2 separate regions of the Homo sapiens genome follow, and region 2 is linked to region 1. Evidence: promoter capture Hi-C in human tissues and cell types (Jung and others, 2019). All regions are on one chromosome and are shown on one strand. Each heading gives the region's core, a stretch centred on a gene start or on the middle of the fragment in contact. The rest is flanking DNA. Distances are from core to core; before and after follow the strand shown.

Region 1 (6,192 bases), core at 2,696-5,195:
TTAGAGTATGGTTCATCTTTTCAGTTTTTCCCATGGATTGTGGTCTCTAAGATGATAATCTAAAGGTTTCAGGAAGAGACAAGTCACAGCTCCCCTGACACTCCTGTCACCATCATAGATAGTCTTTGAATTAAGGTAGGTGGGTATTAACTACAGAATACGTTGCCCCTGTATCAATAAGAAAGTCAATAAGTTTGTTCCCCACTGTCAATTTTACCCAGGGCTCCTGTGGGACTATGACAGCAGTTGGCTAAGCATACATATTCAATGTATGTATGTTACAGAAGAAGCTACGAATATTTATGAAGGTGATCCTGACACATGCGTATTGTACAAACATGCATGTTACATATGACCCATGTTTACCTTGAGGTGAAAGCGTAACATTTAAATGTACTACAATTAGGCCCTGTACATCAAAAGGTCTTTTCAGAACACAAAGGCATGCAAATGCACAATCTCTATAACTAGCTAGAACCAGTTCATGGCCAGCAGTCTTATTATCAGGAGAAAATTAGTGAAATCAGTCTTTTGTTCAATCAAAGCTATAGTTATGGCTGGTGGAACTGGGGTTCAGTTAGTCAGCATCTATGAACTGGATGAGTTGAAATTGTTTTAATATTGCTTGTCTTAAGGCCAGTGCTTGCTTAGCTGCTAGAGAAAAAGAGAAACCTTGTGTCATTGAGAATATAGCTTATTCTTTAAGTGTAAGGATGCATGACTTAACTCTTGCCTGGCATGGCCTTAGGTCCTGTTTATAATATGGTATTTTATTGCCACAAAATTTCAGTTATGTCAGTCTTATGACCTCTATTTTAACATTAGTGTTGATTAGTTATTGTATCTAAACCACAAAAGGGAGAGGGTATAATGAGGCGTATCTGACTTCCCATCACATTATACCTGAAGACTAAGTTTTTAAGGTTTTTCTGGGGTCCCCTTAGCCAAGAGGGGGTCCATTCAGTCAGCAGGGGGCTTAATATTTTATTTTTAGTTGACATTCTCCCATTTGGCCAAGATATACCAAAGGCAGCATAAATGGCCAAACTTTTATTTTGTTCCATATTGTTGCTGGGGGTGTTGTGGCTATGTGCCCCAGGTCCATCACATCCCTTGGTAGGATCCCTGTGGCTAAGGAACTCAAAGCCAAAAGACTTGTAGTCAATTAAACGTTTTAGGCCATTTGGTAAGGGAGGTGGCCAAGCATTCATTAACCCTTAAAACCTTTTAAGTAACATAAGAGCCAAAACCAAAAGCCAAATAGCAAAGGTACAAAACTGACCTTTCTATAAGTTCTATGTGTTGAGCCATCAGCTGTTTAGGCATCTGTGTACCTATATTTGGAGGATCTGAACTAATTTTACTCCTTAAAAGTAAAATTAGTACATCAAAAGGTGTTTTGTGCCCACCTCTTCCATGAGCGTCCTTGGGCCCAGAGGGATTTAATAGTTTTTTAAATCCTGGAGATATTAGGTACAGAGAGAAAGGTAAACCCAATTTCTATAAGCTATAAATAGCTCAAAAAGAAAAAAGGCGGGCCAGGCGCAGTGGCTCACGCCTGTAATCCCAGCACTTTGGGAGGCTGAGGCAGGCAGATCATGAGGTCAGGAGATCAAGACCATCTTTGCTAACATGGTGGAATCCCGTCTCTACTAAAAATACAAAAAATTAGCTGGGCGTGGTGGCACGTGCCTGTAGTCCCAGCTACTTGGGAGGCTGAGACAGGAGAATGGTGTGAACCCAGGAGGTGGAGCTTGCAGTGAGCCGAGATTGCGCCGCTGCACTCCAGCCTGGGTGACAGAGCAAGACTCCGTCTCAGAAAAAAAAAAAAGGCTTTCTTGACTCTGGAAAACAAAACATAAAGAATTAGCAACATTTCAAACTTAATTTAGGATTAGATTTTGAGGACATTTGTCAAAATGTTAAAGCCTCAAACCATTTGATCAAAACAGAACCGCCGGTCTTTGTAAAATAATAATTATTCATTTCACAAAAGTGATAATTAAAAGACTTTAATAGCAATACAGAAAGTTACATGAATATAAAGACTTAACCTTTCTAAAGCTCAGTTTTCCTAAGTAATCAAAAACCTGATAAAGATAACAAGAATGAGGAATTATCTTGAGAAAATGTAAAATCTTTCCTTTTATTTTTTGAGACAGGGTCTCACTCTGTCATCCAGGCTAAAGTGCAGTGGCACAATCATAGCTCACTACAGCCTTGAACTCCTGGACTCAAGTGATCCTCCCGCCTCAGCCTCCCCAGTAGCTAAGACTACAGGCACGCACCACCACACCCAGCTAATTTTTTTCAGAGATGGGGTCTTGCTATATTGCCCTGGCTGGTCTTGAACGAGCTTCAAGTGAGCGTGAGCCTCCTACCTCATCCTCCCAAAGCACTAGGATTACAGGCATGAGCCACTGTTTCCCAGCCTAAAATAATTGTTTCTTAGGCCAGCTACCAAAAACGCAAAGAAAAACTTTCTGTAGTGTGATTGCTTCTTCTTATGGGAAGCCCATTTAGATAACCTGTAAGTCAAACCTGATGAAAACAATACTTGAATGTAATCAGACACAGAAAGACTGTTCAAGGCTATGAGTAGCTGAGTCCAAGCTCGTATCACTTGCCACACAACAGCCAATAAGTCTAGAGACAAGGTATTGTGGCAAGGAAAGCTACCTTATTCAGAGAACCAGAAAACCAAGAAGATGGTGGACCAGCATCATAAAGAACCATCTGAAGTCAGCATGAACGTTAGGCTCTTCTTTATGTTAAGGGAAGGGGAAGAAGAAGGGGATTGGGATCAAGAGGTGACTGATGACCACAGACACCTGGGTGCCAGCAAGGGTCTGAGGACGTTGTAAAACTTCTTTTTTCTAGGTCAGGTCACAATGTTCCTATACATCTTTAACATAACATTGTTATTTGTCTGTATATTTCCTTATCTCCTTGGGGGTTAGTTTGGGGAAAGGAACTGTTACCATTTTTTTTAAAGTTGAACTGCAAGCTAAACTCCTATAATTAGCTGGTCTATGTACAGAGCTAAGCAGAAGCTTTTAGCCTAAAGGATAATACCCCTGGGGGTCAGAGGCAAAATGGAGTCAGTCATGCTAAGTCTCCCTCCACTCTCTTTCTTTTTTGAGATGGAATTTCACTCTTATTGCCCAGGCCGGAGTGCAGTGGCATGATCTCAGCTCACTGCAACCTCCGCCTCCTGGGTTCAAGCAATTCTCTTGCCTCAGCCTCCTGAGTAGCTGAGATTACAGGTGTCCATCACCACACCCAGCTAATTTTTGTAGTTTAGTGGAGATGGGGTTTCACCATTGTTGGTCAGGCTGGTCTGGAACTCCTGACCTCAGGTGATCTACCCACCTTGGCCTCCCAAAGTGCTGGGACAGGTGTGAGCCACCATGCCTGGCCCCTCTACTCTTATAATTAAACCAGCTGTTGCTTTTCCTGCCAAGAAACCAGTCATGAAGATTCACCCATGTTCTAGATGGGAAAACTGGGCTGTAGCCTGGGAGAGGCCAGTCAGGGACAAAGCCAAAGTTAATATAGAGAATGGAGCTTCCAGGGTATAGGGGTTGGGTCTGGGCTAGGGAGCTGGAAACCTAGGTTTTACGCTTGTCCCAGTTTTGATGTTAGCCCTGAGCAGTGCTGTTTCTCATCAGCCTCTGCCTGCTCCAGGGGTCACAGGGCCAAGCCAGATAGAGGGCTGCTAGCGTCACTGGACACAAGATTGCTTTCCCACAGCTGTCCTTCCTCCAGCCCCTCTGCTCCCCATCCGGAAACCTGGGTACCCTTCACCCACCTAGCTCTGTCCCGCAGTGAGATTTATTGCTGACTGCCCTGCCATCTACCCCAGGGTAATAAATCAGGGCAGAGCAGAATTGCAATCACCCCATGCATGGAGTGTATAAAAGGGGAAGGGCTAAGGGAGCCACAGAACCTCAGTGGATCTCAGAGAGAGCCCCAGACTGAGGGAAGCATGGATGGATGGAGAAGGATGCCTCGCTGGGGACTGCTGCTGCTGCTCTGGGGCTCCTGTACCTTTGGTCTCCCGACAGACACCACCACCTTTAAACGGTAATTGGTAACTCAGGCAGAGAAGGGGTGGGAGGGGTGCAGGGTTCCCACCTTCCCAACACCCTGGCTTTTCCACATGCGGTGTCATTCAGTCCTTACGATCAGCTGGACAGGGAAGTATGGACCTGTTCAGAGAGGTCAAGTGACTTGCCCAATAAATGACACTAGTAGTCAGGTCTAGAAGCTGTGACTTTTGCTTCCTGCCCAGAGCACCATGCTAACTAAGCACTGTAGAGAACTCAGAAGTATTAGGACATGCCCCTTGCACTTGAGGAGCTCACAGCCTGAATATTAAGAAGGGCATGGGTGGTTGGGCGCGGTGGCTCCTGCCTGTAATCCCAGCACTTTGGGAGGCTGAGACGGATCACTTGAGGTCAGGAGTTTGAGACCAGCCTGGCCAACATGGGGAAACCCCATCTCTACTAAAAATACAAAAATTAGCCGGGCATGGTGGCAGGCACTTGTAATCCCCAGCTACTCGGGAAGCTGAGGCAGGAGAATCGTTTGAGCCCGGAAGGTGGAGATTGCTGAGCCAAGATCGTGCCACTGCACTCCAGCCTGAGTGACAGAACAAGACTCCATCTCAAAAAAAAAAAAGACGGGGGTCGGGGCATGGGTACAGTTAACTGTACCAGGGAAGCAGCTTGATATCGTGGTTAAATGCAAGGCTTATAGAGTTAGATTGCCTTCATTTAAATTTTGCTTCACTAGCAGAACAAACTAGGTCTGGAATCATGGGCAAGTTATTTAACCTCTCCAAGTCTCAGTTTATCATTTTAAACAGGTATGATAATAACAGTACCTACTTGATGGGGCTGCTTTGGGGATTTTAGGAGATAAGGCATAGAAAGCTGGGCACGTTGTAAGAGCCCAGCTACTGTTAGTACTACAGGATAGATTCTTACAAATATCAAAAGCAAGGTTTGGCCGGGAGCAGTGGCTCACGCCTATAATCCCAACACTTTGGGAGGCCGAGGGGGGCAGATCACCCGAGGTCAGGAGTTCAAGACCAGCCTGACCAACATGGAGAAACCCTGTCTCTACTAAAAATACAAAATTAGCCGGGCGTGGTGGCACATGCCTGTAATTCCAGCTACTTGGGAGGCTGAGGCAGGAGAATCGCTTGAACCTGGGAGGCTGAGGTTGCAGTGAGCCGACATAGCGCCATTGCACTCCAGCCTGGTCAACAAGAGCAAAACTCAGTCTAAAAAAAAAAAAGAAAGAAAAAAACAAGGCTTTAGGTAGCCCACAATTAGAAGGAGAAAACCTTAGCATCCCCTAGGTGCCAGGCCTTGTGGGAACAAGTGATTCATTAAGACTGTAGAAGGAAGCTGGGCACGCGGCTCATGCTTGTAATTCCAGCACTTTGAGAGGCTGAGGTGGGCAGATCGCTTGAGCTCACGAGTTCAAGACCAGCCTAGGCAACATGGTGAAACCTTGTCTGTACAAATACAAAAATTAGCTAGGTGTGGTGGTGCAAATCTGTAGTCCCAGCTACTCGGGAGGCTGAGGTGGGAGCATCACTTCAGCCTGGGAGGTGGAGGCTGCAGTGAGCAGAGACTGACCCACTGTGCTCTAGCCTGGGTGATAGAGCCAGACCTTATGTAAAAAAAAAAAAAAAAAAAAAAAAGACTGAAGAAGGGGAAGAGACAGCATTTGAGAAAAGGCCTCACAGAGAAAGGGGTTTTCAATCTGGGGACAGCAGATATGACCAGCAGTCCTGAAGGTAGGGAGGCACACTTTAATAATGGTAATAGTTGCTAAGCCTATAAAATGCTTAGGGTGTCACAGGATCTTTTCACATGTCTCATCTCAAGTCATGCCCCCAACAACTCAGCATTCCCACTTTGCAGATGAGGACACTGAGGCTCAGGGAGGTGATATGTAAGAGGCTAAGCCTCAACACACACTGGGCCTTTTGCTTCCGAAACTGCTTTCCCTTGCTCTGAGGCTCTCGGAGAGTAATTGCTGGGTTGTGAGCACTGGGTAAGAGGATGGGTGCTTCAAAGCAGCTGCACTCCAGGATAAAGGTAGAGGAAAGTAAAAACATCTTCCCCTGCTGTTATCCAAAAGAGAAAAAGAATGGAATTGGGCAAGGGGTGGAGG
Region 2 (6,192 bases), core at 1,647-4,146, 270 kb after region 1:
CCAGGCTGGTCTCAAACTCCTGACCTCAGATGATCCACCCACCTCGGCTTCCAAAAGTGCTGGAATTATAGGCATGAGCCACCGCACCTGGCTTAGACTAAGAATTTTTAATGACTCCATTAAATCTCCTTGGTTGACTTATTAGCTTTTCTATTTTTCTTGTGATTACTTCAGGATTTATCATGTACAAGGTGAAAATCTTACAGCATGCCAGGTGCAGTAACTCATGTCTGAAATTCCAGCACTTTGAGAGGCTGATGTGGGAGGCTTTCTTGAGGCCAGGAGCTTGAGAGTAGCCTGGGCAACATGGTAAGACCCCATCTCTCCAAAAAAAAAAAAAAAAATCTTACAGCAGTATGATTTCACTTCCCCCATCTTGGCCTTATTCTATTGTGGTCATGTATTTTACTTCTCTCTCTATATATATATGTAAAAGAAATCCCATGATTAATTGTAGTACTTTTTCCTTTAAGCAGTAACTGTTTTACCAAAAAAAAAAAAAAAAAAAAAAAAAAAGCTTCTTGTTCTTCATTTTTTTTTGTAGATCCAGACTTCTATCTGGTACCTTTTTCCTTGTCCCTGAAGGACTTAATACTTCTTATAGTATAAGTCTGCTGGTGATGAATTCTTTCAGCTTTTGTATTTCTGAAATAGTCTTTATTTCACCTTTCTTTTCTTTTTTTTTTTGAGATGGAGTCTCACTCTGTCACCCAGGCTAGAGTGCAGTGGTGCGATCTCAGCTCACTGCAACCTCTGCCTCCAGGTTCAAGCAATTCCCCTGCCTCAGCCTCCTGAGTAGCTGGGATTACAGGCATGCGCCACCATGCCCGGCTAAGTTTTTATATTTTTAGTAGAGACAGGGTTTCACCATATTGATCAGGCTGGTCTCAAACTCCTGACCTTGTGATCTGCCCACCTCAGCCTCCCAAAGTGCTGGGATTACAGGCATGAGCCACCATACCTGGCTCACCTTTGTTTTCAAGAGATATTTTGGCTGGGTATAGAATTCAAGGTTGATTTTTTGTTTGTTTCAGTACTTTAAAGATGTAACTCCATTGTTTTCACACCTGCATTGTATCTGATGAGAAATATGCTGTCATCCTTTGGTTTCTCTATCTGTAACATGTCTAGTTCCTACTGCCTTTAATATTTCCTCTCAATTTCTGGTTTGAACAATTTTTCAAGTGTTATGTGTCATGATATTATTTTCCTTGTCTTCCTTGTGCTTGAGGTCCATTAGACCTGTTAAGGGCTTATAGTTTTCATCAAATTTGAACATTTTTCAGCCATTATTTTTTCAAATCCTTTTTCTCTCCTCCCCTCTCCTTTGGAGACTCCAATTACACACAAATTAGACTGCTAGAGGTTCTCCCACAGTTTACTGATATGCTATTCATTTTCTTCAGCCTTTTTTCTTTAATTTTGAATAACTTCTGTGCTATGTGTTCAAGTTTACTAATCTTTTATTCCACACTCTCTAATGTGCTGTTGATTCTAACAAGTGTGTTTTTCATATCACACACTAAAGTTTGCATTTTCAGAAATTTGATACTGGTCTTTTTTTTTTTTGAAATGAAGTCTCACTGTGTCACCCAGGCTGGAGTGCAGTGGCACAATCTTGGCTCACTGCAACCTCTGTCTCCTGGGTTCAAGCAATTCTCATGCCTCAGCCTCCCGAGTAGCTGGGATTACAGGTGCCCCCCTGCCCCGACCCCTACACCATACCTAACTTTTGTATTTTTAGTAGAGATGGGGTTTCACCATGTTGGCAAGGCTGGTCTCAAACTCCTGACCTCAAGTGATCCACTTGCCTCAGCCTCCCAAAGTGCTGGGATTACAGGCATGTGCCACCGCACCCAGCCTGATGCCAGTCTTTTCAATCTTTCAATGTTTCAAGCATTCCTCTACTTTCTTGAACATACAGAATATACTTTTAACTAGTTTCAATATCCTTGTCAATTAATTCTATCATGTGTCATTTCCAGGTGTTTGTATTTTTCTCATTGTGGTTGCATTTTTCTGCTTTATTGCATGATTGATAATTTTCAACTGGATACCAGACATTGAATTTCACCTTGTTGGGTGCCAGATATTTTTGCATAATATAATAATATTCTTAAGCTTCGTCCCAGTTTCTCTCAAAACTCACATTTAAGCTTTGTTAGGTAACACCAAAGCAAGCTTAGTCTAGGACTAATTTTCTTCCACTATTAATGCAATGTTCTTCTATTTATTTTTCAGACAGGGTCTCACTCTGTTGCCCAGGCTGGAGTACAGTGGCACAATCACAGATCATTGCAGCCTTGACTTCCCTGAGTTCAGGTGATCCTTCCACCTCAGCCTCCTGAGTAGCTGTGACTACAGGTGCATGCCACCACACCTGGCTAATTTTTGTATTTTTTTGTAGAGAAAGGATTTCACCATGTTGCCCAGGCTGGTCTCCAACTCCCAGGCTCAAGTGATCTGCATGCCTTGGCCTCCCAAAGTGCTAGGATTACAGGTGTGAACCACCGTACCCGGCCTGCAATGTCCCTTTAAATATTCTATCTGACCCCTTTTGAGGTATGAGGTCTTTCCTCTGTAGCTGGCAGGAATAAAATCTTTTCCCAGTCCTTTGCAAAATGCATGAAAAGAAGTGTTTATTCTGCTTCTTTTTGATGTTTACTTCCCTTGCCTGGGTTGTTACCTCACATGTATGTGCTGGTCAACCCTCTGAAGACTTGAGGCGGAAACTCTGCACATCTCCAGTTCTCTCCTCTCCAGAACTCTTCCCTGAAAACTTTATTTCCTTGGGTTGCTGTAGATTCCCAATCCCATCTCAACTCAGGGAGACTCCCCTGTGTTCCACCCAGGTTCCTACCCACTGTACTGAGGCTTGAGAAAATCTCCTTAGATGTTAAGTTTGATGAATTGTAAGGCTCACTTCATATGGTTACCTGAGAGAACAACCACCGTCCTGGAATGCCTGGTGTCCTACTGTCTGAAATTTAATTGTTTCATATTTCTTATTCAATTTTTTTTTTTTTTGAGACGGAGCTTCACTCTTGTCACCTAGACTGGAGTGCAATGGTGCGATCTCGGCTCACCACAACCTCCGCCTCCCGGGTTCAAGTGATTCTCTTGCCTCAGCCTCCTGAGTAGCTGGGATTACAGGCATGCGCCACCTTGCCCAGCTAATTTTGTATTTTTAGTAGAGACGGGGTTTCTCCATGTTGGTCAGGCCGGTCTTGAACTCCTGACTTCAGGTGATCCACCCGCCTTAGCCTCCCAAAGTGCTGGGATTACAGGCACGAGCCACTGCACCCAGCCCCAGATTTTTACTTGTTTCTGTTAAATCTGATCCCTCTTACTCCATTTTGACTAGAAGCCTACTGTTTTATTTGTTGCAGCTATGATTACAAGCCTGTTGTGGAGGAAAGACATGAACTCCTCTATGAATTTAATGAAAGCTACTGACCACATTCCCCTCATAAATGAACATTCCTTGTTATTTTAAATGTAATTTCAGGTAGGTTCATTGGCTCCTGTATCTGGTATGAAGGGCTCATGGATCCGACACTTAGAATTCTTGTTTTTTCTTTTTCTTTTGAATTTTCTTGAGTTGGCTTTCTGTTAATTCTACCCTTCTGTTCCTTTCATTTTAGTATTTAATCACTTTGCTCATCAATTTTGTCCTTTTCTTGTTCCTCAACCATCATGTTTACCTTTTTGTCTTTTTAAGTTTTTTTTTTTTTTTTTGAGACAGGATCTCACTCTGTCCCCCACGCAGGAGTGCAGTGGTACAATCTTGGCTCACAGCAGCCTTGACCTTCCAGGCTGAAGTGATCCTCCCACCTCAGCTTCCCGAGTAGCTGGGAATACAGGCATGCACCACCACATCTGGCTAATTTTTGTATTTTTTGTAGAGACAGGCTTTTGCCATATTGCCCAGGCTGGTCTTGAACTCCTGGGCTCCATCCACCCACCTCAGCCTTCCAAAGTGCTGGGATTATAGGCATGTGGCACCATGTCTAGCCTCATGTTTACTTTTTTTTTCTTTTTTTCCAGACGGAGTTTCGCTCTTGTTGCCCAGGCTGGAGTGCAATGGCGTGATGTCGGCTCACCACAACCTCCACCTCCTGGGTTCAAGCGACTCTCCTGCCTCAGCCTCCCAAGTAGCTGGGATTACAGGCACGTGCCACCAAGCTGGGCTAATTTTGTATTTTTAGTAGAGATGGGGTTTCACTACTTCTTGTATTACACACTGAAGACAAAAAGCAGGGTCATGCAGTAATAACTGTGTAGTCAGCCCATACTTTAAATGGGACACTAGTTACTTTTAAGCAGTAAACCCTGACAATGCCCACCCTTTACCTATAACCAGTCGACCTGCATTGGCATTCCTTGTTCTCCTTTCTACAACCTAAACATTGAAAACTCTAGTCTCAGTAACTCAGATCTTCCTTTAGACAGTGAGTTGTCTGTGTTTGCAATGTTTTATTTATTTATTGTTTTTTTGAGACAGGGTTTCACTTTGTCACCCAGGGTGAAGTGCAGTGATGCAATCACAACTCACTGCGTCCTCAACCTCCCAGGTTCAAGCAATCCTCCTGCCTCAGTCTCCCTAGTAGCTGGGACTACAGGCGGTGCCACCATGCCTGGCTAATTTTTGTATTTTTTGTAGAGACAAAGTTTTGCCATGTTGCCCAGGCTGGTCTCAAACTCCTGAGCTTTAGTGATCTTCCCACTTTGGCTTCCCAAAGTGCCAGGATTACAGGCACGAGAGCTACTGTGCCCAGTCACAACATTTTGAAGCTGTGAAAACAGTGGTTTTCTTCACTCATGTCACCTACAATGTAGGCCAGTGTCGTCCAACAGAAATACAAGCCACATATGTAATTCTAAATTCCCTAATATCCACATTGGCCAGGCTCGGTGGCTTACTCCTATAATCCCAGCACTTTGGAAGGCCGAGGTGAGCAGCAGATCACTTGAAATCAGCAGTTTGAGACAAGACTAGACAACAAAGTGAGACTCCACTTCTACAAAAAAATACAAAAATTAGCCAGGTATGGTGGCATGCACCTGTAGTCCCAGCTACTCAGGAGGCTGAGGTGGGAGGATGGCTTGAGCCTGGGAGGCAGAAGTTCCAGTGAGCTGAAATCAAGCCACTGCACTCCAGCCTGGTTGACAGAGCCAGACCCTGTCTCAAAAAAGAAGCAATATCAAAAAAAAGTAATTGGTGGAATTAATTTTGTTTTACGTAATCCATTATATCTAAAATATAACTATTTCAATGTTACAAACATAAAAATTATTATTGGCTGGGTGCGGTGGCTCATGCCTGTAATCCCAGCACTTTGGGAGGCTGAGGCAGGTAGATCACTTGAGGTCGGGAGTTCGAGACCAGCCTGACCAACGTGGAGAAACCCCGTCTCTACTAAAAATACAAAATTAGCTGGGTGTGGTGGCGCATGCCTGTAATCCCAGCTACTGGGGAGGCTGAGGCAGGACAATCGCTTGAACCCGAGAGGCGGAGGTTGCAGTAAGCCGAGATCATGCCACTGCACTCCAGCCTGGGTGATAGAGCCAGACTCCATCTCAGGAAAAAAAAAAAAAAAAAAAAAAAATATATATATATATATATATATATAATATAACATATAAATATATAATAGAAATACATATAATATATAAATATATATTATGTAATATAATACTAATATAATATAATATAATATAACATATATAAATAGATATATTTGTTGACATGGAGTTTTGTTCTTGTTGCCCAGGCTGGAGTGCAATGGTGTGATCTCAGCTCATTCTGAGCAGCAATTCTGCTGCCTCAGCCTCCCGAGTAGCTGGGATTACAGGCATAAACCACAACGCCTGGCTAATTTCGTATTTTTAGTAGAGACGGGGTTTTACCACGTTGGCCAGGCTGATGTGGAACTCCTGACTTCAGGTGATCCACCCCCCTCGGCCTCCCAAAGTGCTGGGTTACAGCCGTGAGTCACCGTGCCTGGCCAAATGTCTAGTTTAAAAAGTAGACTGTCGTACACAAGTTGTTCCAAACATACTTAAAGGTTTTCTAAACCAAAAAGTACGTTCCTTAGCCTTAGCACATTTTAAGTGCTCAATAGCCACTTATGGTTAGTGACAACTATATTAAACAGCATAGGCATAGGTCCTTTATGAAGAGTTACAGAA

The links. Contacts are between HindIII fragments. The study calls those that stand out against the background at their distance.
Region 2: a contact is called between a fragment that was not itself captured here and the fragment with the promoter of REN in region 1, in 1 of the 25 tissues and cell types used here (neural progenitor cells).

The regions. Positions count from the first base shown.
Region 1 is chr1:204,164,090-204,170,281 of GRCh38, reverse strand. It overlaps REN (renin), which reads left to right and starts at 3,945. Exons shown (of 10, transcript NM_000537.4): 1 at 3,945-4,086. The coding sequence starts at 3,989. RefSeq lists cis regulatory regions at 27-1,125, 3,686-3,701, 3,571-3,878, 3,863-3,885, promoters at 3,362-3,796, 3,797-3,948, 1-3,960 and a silencer at 4,089-6,192. The HindIII fragment of the contact is 7,868 bases long and covers 609-6,192 here.
Region 2 is chr1:203,889,716-203,895,907 of GRCh38, reverse strand. No RefSeq gene overlaps it. Among named protein-coding and RNA genes, the nearest start is that of SNRPE, 31 kb to the right of the region's middle. The HindIII fragment of the contact is 3,154 bases long and covers 1,320-4,473 here.